Linked DNA regions of Homo sapiens: regions 1 and 2 are each linked to region 3. Evidence: promoter capture Hi-C in human tissues and cell types (Jung and others, 2019). All regions are on one chromosome and are shown on one strand. Each heading gives the region's core, a stretch centred on a gene start or on the middle of the fragment in contact. The rest is flanking DNA. Distances are from core to core; before and after follow the strand shown. Region 1 overlaps EEF2K (eukaryotic elongation factor 2 kinase). Region 2 overlaps METTL9 (methyltransferase 9, His-X-His N1(pi)-histidine). Region 3 holds the start of UQCRC2 (ubiquinol-cytochrome c reductase core protein 2).

Region 1 (3,875 bases), core at 479-2,978, 330 kb after region 3:
CAGCTTGGGCAACCTGGTAAGAGTGTGTCTCTATAAAAAAATTTTAAAAATTAGCCAGGCGTGGTGACATGCCCCTGTCATCCCAGCTACTCAGGAGGTTAAAATGGGAGGATTGCTGGATCCCAGGACTTTGAGGCTGCAGTGAGCTATGATTGTGCCACTGCACTCCTGCCTGGGCAACAGAGTGAAACGCTATCTCAAGAAAAGAAAAAAGAGAGAGCAAAAGGGGGCTGAACTCGCCCTTTTATAACAAATCCACTTTCCTCATACTGGCAGAAATCCATTCATGAGGGCAGAACCATCAAAGCCCAATCACCTCTCAAAGATCCCAACTCCTAATACCTCACAATGGCAAGCAAATCTCAACATGGGTTTTGGAGGGGACACACGTTCCAACCAGAGCAAGGAGCCAGGTGCAGAAAGAGTTGGAGGAAGAATCTTCCAAGGTGAGGGAACAGCGGGTGCAAGGGCCACAGAGCAGGCAGGAGCAGGCATCGTTGGGGAATGGATGGCAGCCGGTGAGCCTGGTGCAAAGGTAGACAAACAGGAGACCGTCCTGGAGGGCAGCGCCTGTCAGACAGGGCCGCAGAGGGCACTGTGGCAGCAAGGCAGGGACAGCAAGTCATCAGACCTATTGCTTCTGGAATGTTTCACGAGACCCACAGGCCTTCTTACCTGTGTCGCTGTATTTGCTCTTTCCTGATATACTATAAATAGTTACTCACACGGATTACACCCAAAGAAAAAGAGCCCTCCGCCCTGTTTGCTGTGTATTCTGTGGTGCGTGGGTTTGGCTGGAAACTTTGTGTGCCCTGGCTGGTTTGGCCATACATGGGCTGCAGTAGGAGGAGTTGAGGGTCGACGGGCAGAGCTGGAAGTGGAGACTCAACTATTCTGGGGTGAGTTCTGCATTGTGCTGGAGGCAATTTTACATAACAAAATTCACAGCTGTCCCGCACAGCAGAGCATACGGTGATTGCCATTAGTGCAGATGGCTCTAGAGGCCTCTGCAGAGGACCCCGCCCCCAATCCACTTCTCTACAAGTCAGAGGGCAGCTTAGCTAGGACACTCAGGCATTGCTAATGCTAGCTCATGGCTGCCTCTGTGTAGACTGTAAAAATGGGCCCCTTCCTCAAGGGGGTGTCCTAGCTAAGCTGCCCTTTACTTTCATCTATGGGAAAATTGTTGTAATATACTGATTTTATTAAGGAAAGCAACTTGACTCCTCTTTTTTTTTTTTTTTTTTTAACACAGGGTTATACTCTATTGCCCAGGCTGGAGTGCAGTGGCATGATCATAGCTCACTGCAGCCTCTAACTCCTGGGCTCAAGCTATCCTCCCACCTCAGCCTCCGGAGTAGCTGGGACTACAGGTGTCCATCACCACACCCAGCTTTTTGTGTGTTTATTGTATTTTTTAATTTTTGTGGGTACATAGTAAGTGTGTATATGGGTTACATGAGCTATTTTGATATGGGCATGGAATGTGTAATAATCACATCAGGATAAATGGGATATCCATCATCTCAAGCATTTATTCATTGTGGTATAAACAATTTCTTTATACTCTTTTAGTTATTTTAAAATATACAATTACATTATTTTTGACTATAGTCACTGTTTTTTTGTTGTGTTTTTGTTTTTTTGTAGAGACACGGTCTCTCTACGTTGCCTGGGCTGGTCAACTGCTCTCTTAATAAATATTGGCCGAGCACAGTGGCTCATGCCTGTAATCTCAGCACTTTGGGAGGCCTAGGCATGTGGATCACTCGAGGTTAGGGGTTCGAGACCAGCCTGGCCAACGTGGTGAAATGCCGTCTTTACTAAAAATACAAAAAATTAGCTGGGTGTGGTGGCGTGCACCTGTAATCCTAGCTACTCAGGAGGCTGAGACAGGAGAATTGCTTGAACTTGAGAGGCGGAGGCTGCAGTGGGCCGAGATTGCACCACTGCACTCCAGCCTGGGCAACAGAGCAAGACTCTGTCTCAAAAATGAATGAATGAATGAGTGAATGAATATCACAGTATGAAGGTGCCTCATAGATGTATTGGCCTTGGACAAGATAGGTCGTGAACCATAGGTGGTGGCCCTGCTGGGATCCCTGACTTGCCCCTCCTGCTGGAAGGCCCTCCTCCTGCCACCCTGTTGCCATGGTAACCTCCACCTTTCCCTCTGTATCTCCTGGCAAGGTGCCAAGACTGGCTAGAGGCCCTGCACTGGTACAACACTGCCCTGGAGATGACGGACTGTGATGAGGGCGGTGAGTACGACGGAATGCAGGACGAGCCCCGGTACATGATGCTGGCCAGGGAGGCCGAGATGCTGTTCACAGGAGGCTACGGGCTGGAGAAGGACCCGCAGAGATCAGGTAGGGCCTGGCAGACCTGCCCCTGGGCTGCAACAGGGCTGGGCAGGGAGGAACCTAATTTCCATTCCACTGGGAGTTATTTATGACAAGATGACAGGCTGAATCTTCTTCCAGGGAGGGGAATTTATGGAGCTAGTATGAAGATGAACATTGTTATTTTAATGGTTATATATTACGGCTTTGTAGGGGGTTTTTGCAATTTTAAAAACTGAATTGAGATTTTCATAACAAAATTCACCATCTTAAAGTATATAGTTTAGTAGGGGGGTTTTCCTTTCCTTTCTTTCTTTTTTTTTTTTTTTTTTTGAGACGGAGTCTCGCTCTATAGCCCAGACTGGAGTGCAACGGCATAATCTTGGCTCACTGCAGCCTCCACCTCCCGAGTTCCAGCGATTCTCCTGCCTCAGCCTCCTGAGTAGCTGGGATTACAGGTGTGCCACCATGCACAGCTGATTTTTGTATTTTTAGTAGAGACAGGGTTTTGCCATGTTGGCCAGGCTGGTCTCGAACTCCTGACCTCAAGTGATCGGCCCACCTCGGCCTCCCAAAGTGCTGGATTACAGGCGTGAGCCACCACACCTGGCCCAGAGTTTCACTCTTGTAGCCCAGGCTGGAGTGGGCCATCTCTGCTCCCTGCAACCTTCACCTCCCAGGTTCAGGTGATTCTTGTGCCTCAGCCTCCTGCATAGCTGGGACTACAGGCACACACCCAGCTAATTTTTCTGTTTTTAGTAGAGATGGGGTTTCACCATGTTGGCCAGACTGGTCTTGAACTCCTGACCTCAGGTGATCTGCCCGCCTCAGCCTCCCAAAGTGCTGGGATTATACGTGTGAGCCACCATGCCTGGCCTCCTTTCCTTTTCTTTCTTTCTTTTTTCTTTGAAATAGAATCTCACTGTGTCACTCAGGCTGGAGTGCAGTGGCACAATCATAGCTCACTCCAGCCTGGAACTCCTATGCTCAAGCAATTCTCCTGCCTCAGCCTCCCAAGCAGCTGGGACTACAGGCACTTGCTTCCACACCCAGCCAATTTTTAAAAGTTCTTTGTAGTGACAGAGTCTTGCTATGTTGCCCAGGCTGGTCTTGAACTCCTAGCCTCAAGCAATCTGCTGCCTTGGCTTCCCAAAGTCTTTGGATTACAGATGTGAGCCACTGCACCTGGTCCTAGTGGGTTTTAGTATAGTCATAATGTTGTACAATCATCACTGCTATGTAATTCCAGAACATTTCCATCACCCCAAAAAGAAATCCCGTACCAGTTAGCAGTCCTCCCCGAACCTAGCAGCCACTATACTTTTTGTCCCTATAGATTTGCCTATTCTGGAGATTTTATATAACTGGGAGTATACAATTTGTGGCTTTTTGTATCTGCTTCTTTCATTTAGCATAACTTTTTCAAGATTCATCTGTGTTGAAGTGTGTTATCAGTACTTCATTCCTTCTTATTACTACATAATATTCCATTGTGTGGATATACAGCCTTTATCCATTCATCAGTTGATAGAC
Region 2 (3,572 bases), core at 778-3,277, 310 kb before region 3:
GGGTTGCTGCTGCTGGCTCTGTTGGCCTGCTTTTATTCCCTTATCTGGCCCCACCAACATCCTGCTGATTGGTCCATTTTACAGAGAGCTGATTGGTCCATTTTACAGAGCACTGATTCGTCCGTTTTGACAGAGCGCTGATTTGTGTGTTTACAAACCTTTAGCTAGACACAGAGTGCTGATTGGTGCGTTTAGAATCCTTTAGCTAGACACAAGTTCTCCAAGTCTGCTACCCGGCTAGCTAGACACAGAGCGCTGATTGGTGTATTTATAAACCATTAGCTAGACACAGAGCACTGATTGGTGCGTTTACAAACCTTTAAGTAGACACAGAGTGCTGATTGGTGCATTTACAAACCTTTAGCTAGACAGAAAAGTTCTCCAGGTCCCCACCCGACTCAGAAGCCCAGCCAGCTTCACCTCTCAATGGCACTGGCTGCGGGACTTTGTGGCACCTAGCCTGGGCACTCCAGCAGCCCAGAGGGAGCTTGTCCCCTGATTAAGCCCAGCAGGCACCAGCCAGTGGCACCGAGTGCTGGGCCTGCTGAGCCCGTACACACCCGGAACCTGTGCTGGCCCGCGTGCGCTGCGCGCAGCCCGGCTCCTGCCCGTGCCTCTCCCTCCACACTTCCCCGCGAGCAGAGAGCCAGTCCGGCCTCGGCCAGCCACAGAGAGGGGTCCCCACAGCACAGCGGCGGGCTGAAGTGCTCCTTGAGTGCGGTCAGAGCGGACACCGAGGCCGAGGAGGCGCTGAGAGCGAGCGAGGGCTGCTAGCACATTGTCACCTCTCAATAAGCCACTCAGTCTATGGTAATTTGTTTTTGCAGCTCGAAGTAAAACAAGTTGTTTCAGTATTAATTCTTTTTTAATTGTCATAGGAAACCCAAATCTAAACAGAAAGTTACAGCTTAGGCTGGGTGCGGTGGCTTATGCCTGTAATCCTAGCATTTTGGGAGGCCAAGGTGGGCAGATCACCTGAGGTCAGGAGTTTGAGACCAGCCTGGCCAACAGAGTGAAACCCCATCTCTACTAAAAATACAAAAATTAGCCAGGCATGGTGGCAGATGCCTATAATCCCAGCTACTCAGGAGGCTGAGGCAGGAGAATCACTTGAACCCTGGAGGCAGAGGTTGCAGTGAGCCGAGATCACGCCATTGTACTCCAGCCTGAGCGTCAAGAGCAAAACTCCATCTCAAGAAGAAAGAAAAAGTTGCAGTTTAATTCTTTTCTGGATGCTCAGATAGCAGGACAATTAGTACTGTTGGGGTTTGTTGAATGGTCTTTATGGAAAGGGGTGAAGCTTCATGGTGAGGGACTGAAGTATGCTACATATCTCAATTTAAATGCTGAAGGAACATTTTTCTATAGAAACATTGTTCAATTGCATTTATAGAAGGCATTTGAGGGCCTACTGTGTACCAAGTGGAAATATAAAGATAAATGAGAATCACGCTTTTGCTCTTAAAACACAGAATAGTACACAATATAGATAGAAACAGATAATGGCAGGAAATTGTGGTAAGAAATATGTCAAACTAAGTACTGAAGAATTAGAGACGAATAGATCTGTTAGCCTGTGGGTGAGTTAGGGAAGGTTTCATGTTGAGGTGAGCTGTGTTTGTAGTCTGAAGCATTTTACCAGGCTGAGGGGAACAGCATGTGCAAAAGCATGAAGGTGTGAGTAAGGTTTGTGTGGGGGTGGAGCAAGTTCAGTATGACCCGAGGATAGTTTGCAAAAGAGGCCTTTGATTGTATAGTGTAGCACTCAGTAAATAGTGTTGGCGCCTGAAATCAATGACTGTACATCCCAAACTAATCTCAAAGCTATTTCCTTTTGGTGTGGGTTTGGTTTTGTTGTTAATTTTGAAATATACTTTTGAACACTGAAATCTCTGAAACTGCTAAGATCTCTAGAAGTGTAATTGGGAAAGAAACTTGCTTGTAGCTTTAACAAAATAAGAAACTCTTCCCAAATAAAACTTATTTTGAAGTTTGAAAATATATACTTTTGGTGAGATAGATGAATAAATGAATGAATACTGTGTATACACCAGATATTCTTATATAAGACCTAGAGGAATGGAACTCTTTGCGAAAGTATATTCCGTATTTCAGCTTCAAAATCAATCTTTGAAACACGGTCCTTGCTTACATGGGAAAGGCATATTGTGAGTCAAATACTAGTTTATCTGAGGGATTTTGTCTCCTGGTTAGACAATGAACAGTGTATTTTCAGTCCTGGAATTCAGTACCAAAATGTAATGACTCCCAGAAATGAAAAGCAAATGATCGAATTCAACACTTCTGTTCATTTCGATGGTATTAGTGCTTGCCCTTTTTTGCAGTCTGGCTTAGAAGCTCATTACTTTACCTGAGCTAGTGGTCTCAGAGTGGGGAAGTACACACTGCAGAGTACACAAGACAGTTTATTTTGGAATATGGCAGGAAAGTATTAGCATTTTTTATTTATATTGCTGCTTATGCCATTGTTTAATTTGTTTTTGTGTATAAGGTACAAAGGTACATTTTCATGCATATACCGTATACAAAACACATGTGGCCCCACACATATACACATGTGCACTCACGTGTACACACAGATACACACAAAAAAATGAGGTTCCATGCTGCCTCCTTTCCCCTGCCCATTTTTCTGGGCACATAGGATCAGGAAAGTTTGATATCACTGATTTAAACCATCAATGCAAAAACACTTTCAAAGGAATCTTAAAATATTTAACAATTCTAAGTTTTATAAAGAATACACCTTAGGCAATACCAGTTTAAAAGAAACACTTTATTTTATTTATTTATTTATTTATTTATTTATTTTTGAGACAGTCTTGCTCTGTCACCTAGGCTGGGGTGCAGTGGCGTGATCTCAGCTCACTGCAACCTCCGCATCCTGGGTTCAAGTGATCTCCTGCCTCAGCCTCCCAAATAGCTGGGATTACAGGTGTGTGCCACCAAACCCCGCTAAATTTTTTTGTATTTTTAGTAGAGACGGGTTTCATCATGTTGTTCAGGCTGGTCTCGAACTCCTGATCTCATGATTCACCTGCCTCAGCCTCCCAAAGTGTTGGGATTACAGGCGTGAGCCACCACACCCGGCCTAAAAGAGACACTTTAATGAAATAAACATAGTAGGTTGTAAGGTTGTAATTTGTGTCTAATAATGAATGCATACTTATGGGCACTTTAGATTTTTTTATACCAAAGTAGCTTTCAAAGGACAATTTATATCATGTTTTCTTAGTGAAGTGGTAATGAATTCCATAAATATCCTTGTACCATGCCTCCTATCTGACATTTCCCTCCTAAATTGGTTAAAAATCAGTATTATAGACTGTGCGCGGTGGCTCACGCCTGTAATCCCAGCACTTTGGGAGGCCATTTCAGGCAGATCATCTGAGGTCTTGAGTTTGAGACCAGCCTGGCCAACATGGTGAAACCCCGTCTCTACTAAAAATACAAAAAAAAAAAAAAAAAAAAATTAGCCGGGCGTGGTGGTGCGTACCTGTAATCCCAGCTACTTGGGAAACTGAGGCAGAAGAATGGCATGAACCCGGGAG
Region 3 (3,508 bases), core at 491-2,990:
AGCAGGCAGGTGGCTTGATCAGAGCACTGCTTCCCAGATTTCACTCAATGGTACCTGTATAACACATTCATGATTTTTGCTGTATCTCCGTATCATCAAGTTACTTAACGTTTTTACACCAACTTTTATTATTTTATAAATGTACTTAAAGAGGAAATTCACTACTAGCATTGCTTGCCATAATCAAAATAAATATATTATTAAAATGGAACAGTGCTAAATAAGGTGTACACATGGACATAGAGTGTGGAATGACAGACAATGGAGACTCCGAAAGGTGGAGGGGTGGGAGAGAGGTGAACGATGAGAAAGTACTTAATGGGTACCATGTACATTATTCGGGTGATGGGTACACTAAAAGCCCAGACTTCACCATTACTGCAATATATCCATATAACATAACTGTACTTGCGCCCCTTAAATTTATACAAATTTTTAAAAGGAAAAAATGGAAGTGTTCATCTATGTACCAACTTAAAATCATCTCACGCACCACTAGTGTTAAATCTACCACATGTGGGGAAACTGTGTGGTATGAATTGGGTTGAGGGCGTCCCCAGCAGGCACAGAAATTGGGTTGGTGCCAGGTTCTTAATGCCCAGATCTTAATTAGAGAGCCCAAGTCCGTTGTAGGCCTGGAGCAATTCAGACACAAGGCAAAAAGAAAGTACATTTGCCTATGCCTTGTAACGTCTACACCACCAGCCTTTCTGAAACTATTGTGCATACGAAGTCATCCCAGGATCTTGTAAAAACACCGATTCGGATCCAATATGGGACCTGGAGTTCATACATTTCTAATCAACTCCTAAATGATATTGATGCTGATACTGTCGGTTTCCCAACCAAGCAACGTAGCAAGGTACGAAACTCTAAAGTCCCTAAAGGGCAGGGACCACGCCTCTCGCGTTGGCATAGTGCCTAGCTCAAGGCACTTTCTGGGTTAACACTCGCTGAGGACCGGAGTGAACGCCCCCGCCCCAAGTCGTCACGTGACTGACTTTCTCCAACTGCCGGTTTCGGCTCACATAACACACCTACTATCCAAAACATTTCTATTTTCCTAACACAAAAACTATAGCTAAGTTTTTATATTCTATGTAGCCCCAGCCTAGGACGTAAATTCCACGAGACCAAAAGCCTTGTGATGATTCCCCGAGGTTGCTGACCCTCCCGGTGTGTCCCGGGCCTGCTCTGGGGGACACAGCGGCGAATACGTTGAACGAGGCCCCTGTTTCACGGAGCTAAAGATCCAGTAAGGACTTCACCCAGCGAGAGGCAACTACGCCGGGCTTCGATACCCAATACCTCTGCAGAAAGGTGGAGTGGCAGGAATCTCCTGAAGCCTCCAACGTCCAGGAACGCGGAAACCCAGGGCCTCCAGTGCAGGTGTCATCCCGGAGGGCGCATGCGGAGTCCCAAGAGAGGCGCGTCCCATTGGACAATGCTGAGCGGAAGAGCCCAAGATAGCGGGGGGAGTTGTGACAGGCTGCTGCAGACGTACTTAGAAAAGGGGTGCATACTGGATATTCAGGCTAGGAGAAGAACGCAAAAAGCAGTGACGTACATTATTCTCTGCATATATTTACTTGGGAAATTGTGCGTCTCCCTATTCTGAGTCTTGGAGGAATTGGACTGGTCCAACCTTATAAAGAGAGCAGTAGAGCGCGGCAGTATAGAGAGTACCTCACGAAGGGGACGTGGGAAAGTGTTAGCGGGGAACGCTGGGAAACTCCCGGCCTCCGCCACCATCTTGCTTTCCTTTAATCCGGCAGTGACCGTGTGTCAGAACAATCTTGAATCATGAAGCTACTAACCAGAGCCGGCTCTTTCTCGGTGAGCTCAGGTGGCGGGTTTGGGAAAGGGCTGGGGAGCAGTGTGTCGACAAGGTGATACGAGGCGGAGGTGTCTGGTCTGGGGTCTGGGCCTTGGGATTCGGTCTGCCCTTCAGCTGAACCCTGCGGGCCAAGTGGGCTGCAGACTGGGTCAGGCTTTGGAGGCCCAGCTCATGCTGTGAGCACAAGAGACCTAACACCGGGAAACCTGAAGAGAGGGGCAGGACGTGAGAGCGGAGTTGAAGCGAGTCCTTGGAGAGACTTCTGAAGGTCACTCCGGTACTCAAGTGCTGGAGAAAGAGACCGTGAAACCCAGGGGGAGCGGGAGGACGGCGCACTTAGCCCCCCACCTTCACTTTATCCGCTGCAGCCTCTGCTCCTTGGTTTATCACGGAGCGTCAGTTTCCCCAGCGAATAAAAGTATAAGAAAGGAGCTAATGCAGATAGAACACTTATTACAGTACCTGGAACTTCATTGTTAAATACTATGGTGTCTTAGTAGTCTAACGTTGCTTTTCTTGATCGTATGTTAGACGGTTCCTCCAAGACGTCTCTGTTTGTCCTCAAAAGCTCCTTAATTAAGTTTCCCCTTCAAGCCTAAATTAAACATAGCTGTCACTTGGGGAAAACTCACACATCAGGGTTATATCACTGTGGGACAGTGGTTATTAAGAGGGGTAAGGGGGAACACTTAAAAAATCATAGCGAGGGACAGAATGCCCCCAGGGAACCGGTGGCGATGTTTGGAGACATATTTAGTTGCAACAACTTGTAAGGAGGGTGCTATTGGCATGGAGAGGCCAGGGATGCTGCTAAACTTCGCCTTACAGCAAAGAATTATCTAGCCCCAAGTGCCAGTAGTAGTACCTGTGTTGAGAAACCCCCCTAGATGGAGATGCAGAAGACCAGACCTGGGCATGGAATGTTCTTATGCTTTATGTTTACATAAATGTGCTGTGGGCTATATCGATTTAGGCTGTAATTGCATTAACCTTCCAGGTATACCTAGACACACCAGTGATTACCCTTGGAGGGAAGCACGGTTAGATTGGCAAAAGACCCCAACATTTCCTTCTCCATTCTATTTTGCAACAGAAAAAGCTCAGAGAAAACAGTTGGAGAGGCCCAAAGTAAACAAATTGCAGTAAACTTGAAAGCAATTATTTATGTGTCTAATTTTAGCACTTTATATAGGAGAATAAACTTAGATATATCTTGTTATTAGAACAAAATAATTTAGAAGATTGCATGACAGTTACTAGGATAATTTGCTGATTTGAATGGGACGATTAAGAAGCACATTACCGGCGGAGCGCGATGGCTCACACCTGTAATCCTAGCACTTTGGGAGTCAGAGGCAGGCGGATCACTTGAGATGAGGAGTTCGAAACCAGTCTGGCCATCATGGTGAAACCCCGTCTCTACTAAAAATACAAAAAAAAAAAAAATAGCCGGGCGTGGTGGTGGTGGGCGCCTCTAATCCCAGCTACTCAGGAGGCTGAGGCAGGAGAATCTCTTGAACCCAGGAGGCGGAGGTTGCAGTGAGCCGAGATCGCACCGCTGCACTCCAGCCTAGACGACAGAGCGAGACTCCGTCTCAAAAAAAAAAAAAAAAAAAAATTACCAACAAAGAGTTACTATTTGGGCACATTTGGTTGGAAAACACCTAAAAT

What was found. The method cuts DNA at HindIII sites, captures the fragments that hold promoters and counts their contacts. A contact is called where the count stands out against the background at its distance.
Region 1: a fragment that was not itself captured here is called in contact with the fragment with the promoter of UQCRC2 in region 3 in 1 of the 25 tissues and cell types used here (spleen).
Region 2: a fragment that was not itself captured here is called in contact with the fragment with the promoter of UQCRC2 in region 3 in 1 of the 25 tissues and cell types used here (spleen).

Annotation. Positions count from the first base shown.
Region 1 is chr16:22,278,008-22,281,882 of GRCh38, forward strand. It overlaps EEF2K (eukaryotic elongation factor 2 kinase), which reads left to right. Exons shown (of 18, transcript NM_013302.5): 17 at 2,191-2,369. Among named protein-coding and RNA genes, the nearest start is that of TRL-AAG2-4, 17 kb to the right of the region's middle. The HindIII fragment of the contact is 8,071 bases long and covers 1-3,875 here.
Region 2 is chr16:21,637,125-21,640,696 of GRCh38, forward strand. The region is part of intron 4 of METTL9 (methyltransferase 9, His-X-His N1(pi)-histidine); the gene reads left to right. It overlaps IGSF6 (immunoglobulin superfamily member 6), which reads right to left. Exons shown (of 6, transcript NM_005849.4): 6 at 2,426-3,572. Among named protein-coding and RNA genes, the nearest start is that of IGSF6, 14 kb to the right of the region's middle. The HindIII fragment of the contact is 5,696 bases long and covers 1-3,572 here.
Region 3 is chr16:21,951,621-21,955,128 of GRCh38, forward strand. It overlaps UQCRC2 (ubiquinol-cytochrome c reductase core protein 2), which reads left to right and starts at 1,741. Exons shown (of 14, transcript NM_003366.4): 1 at 1,741-1,836. The coding sequence starts at 1,804. RefSeq lists enhancers at 1,074-1,533, 1,622-2,339, 1,854-2,023, 2,034-2,083. The HindIII fragment of the contact is 13,220 bases long and covers 1-3,508 here.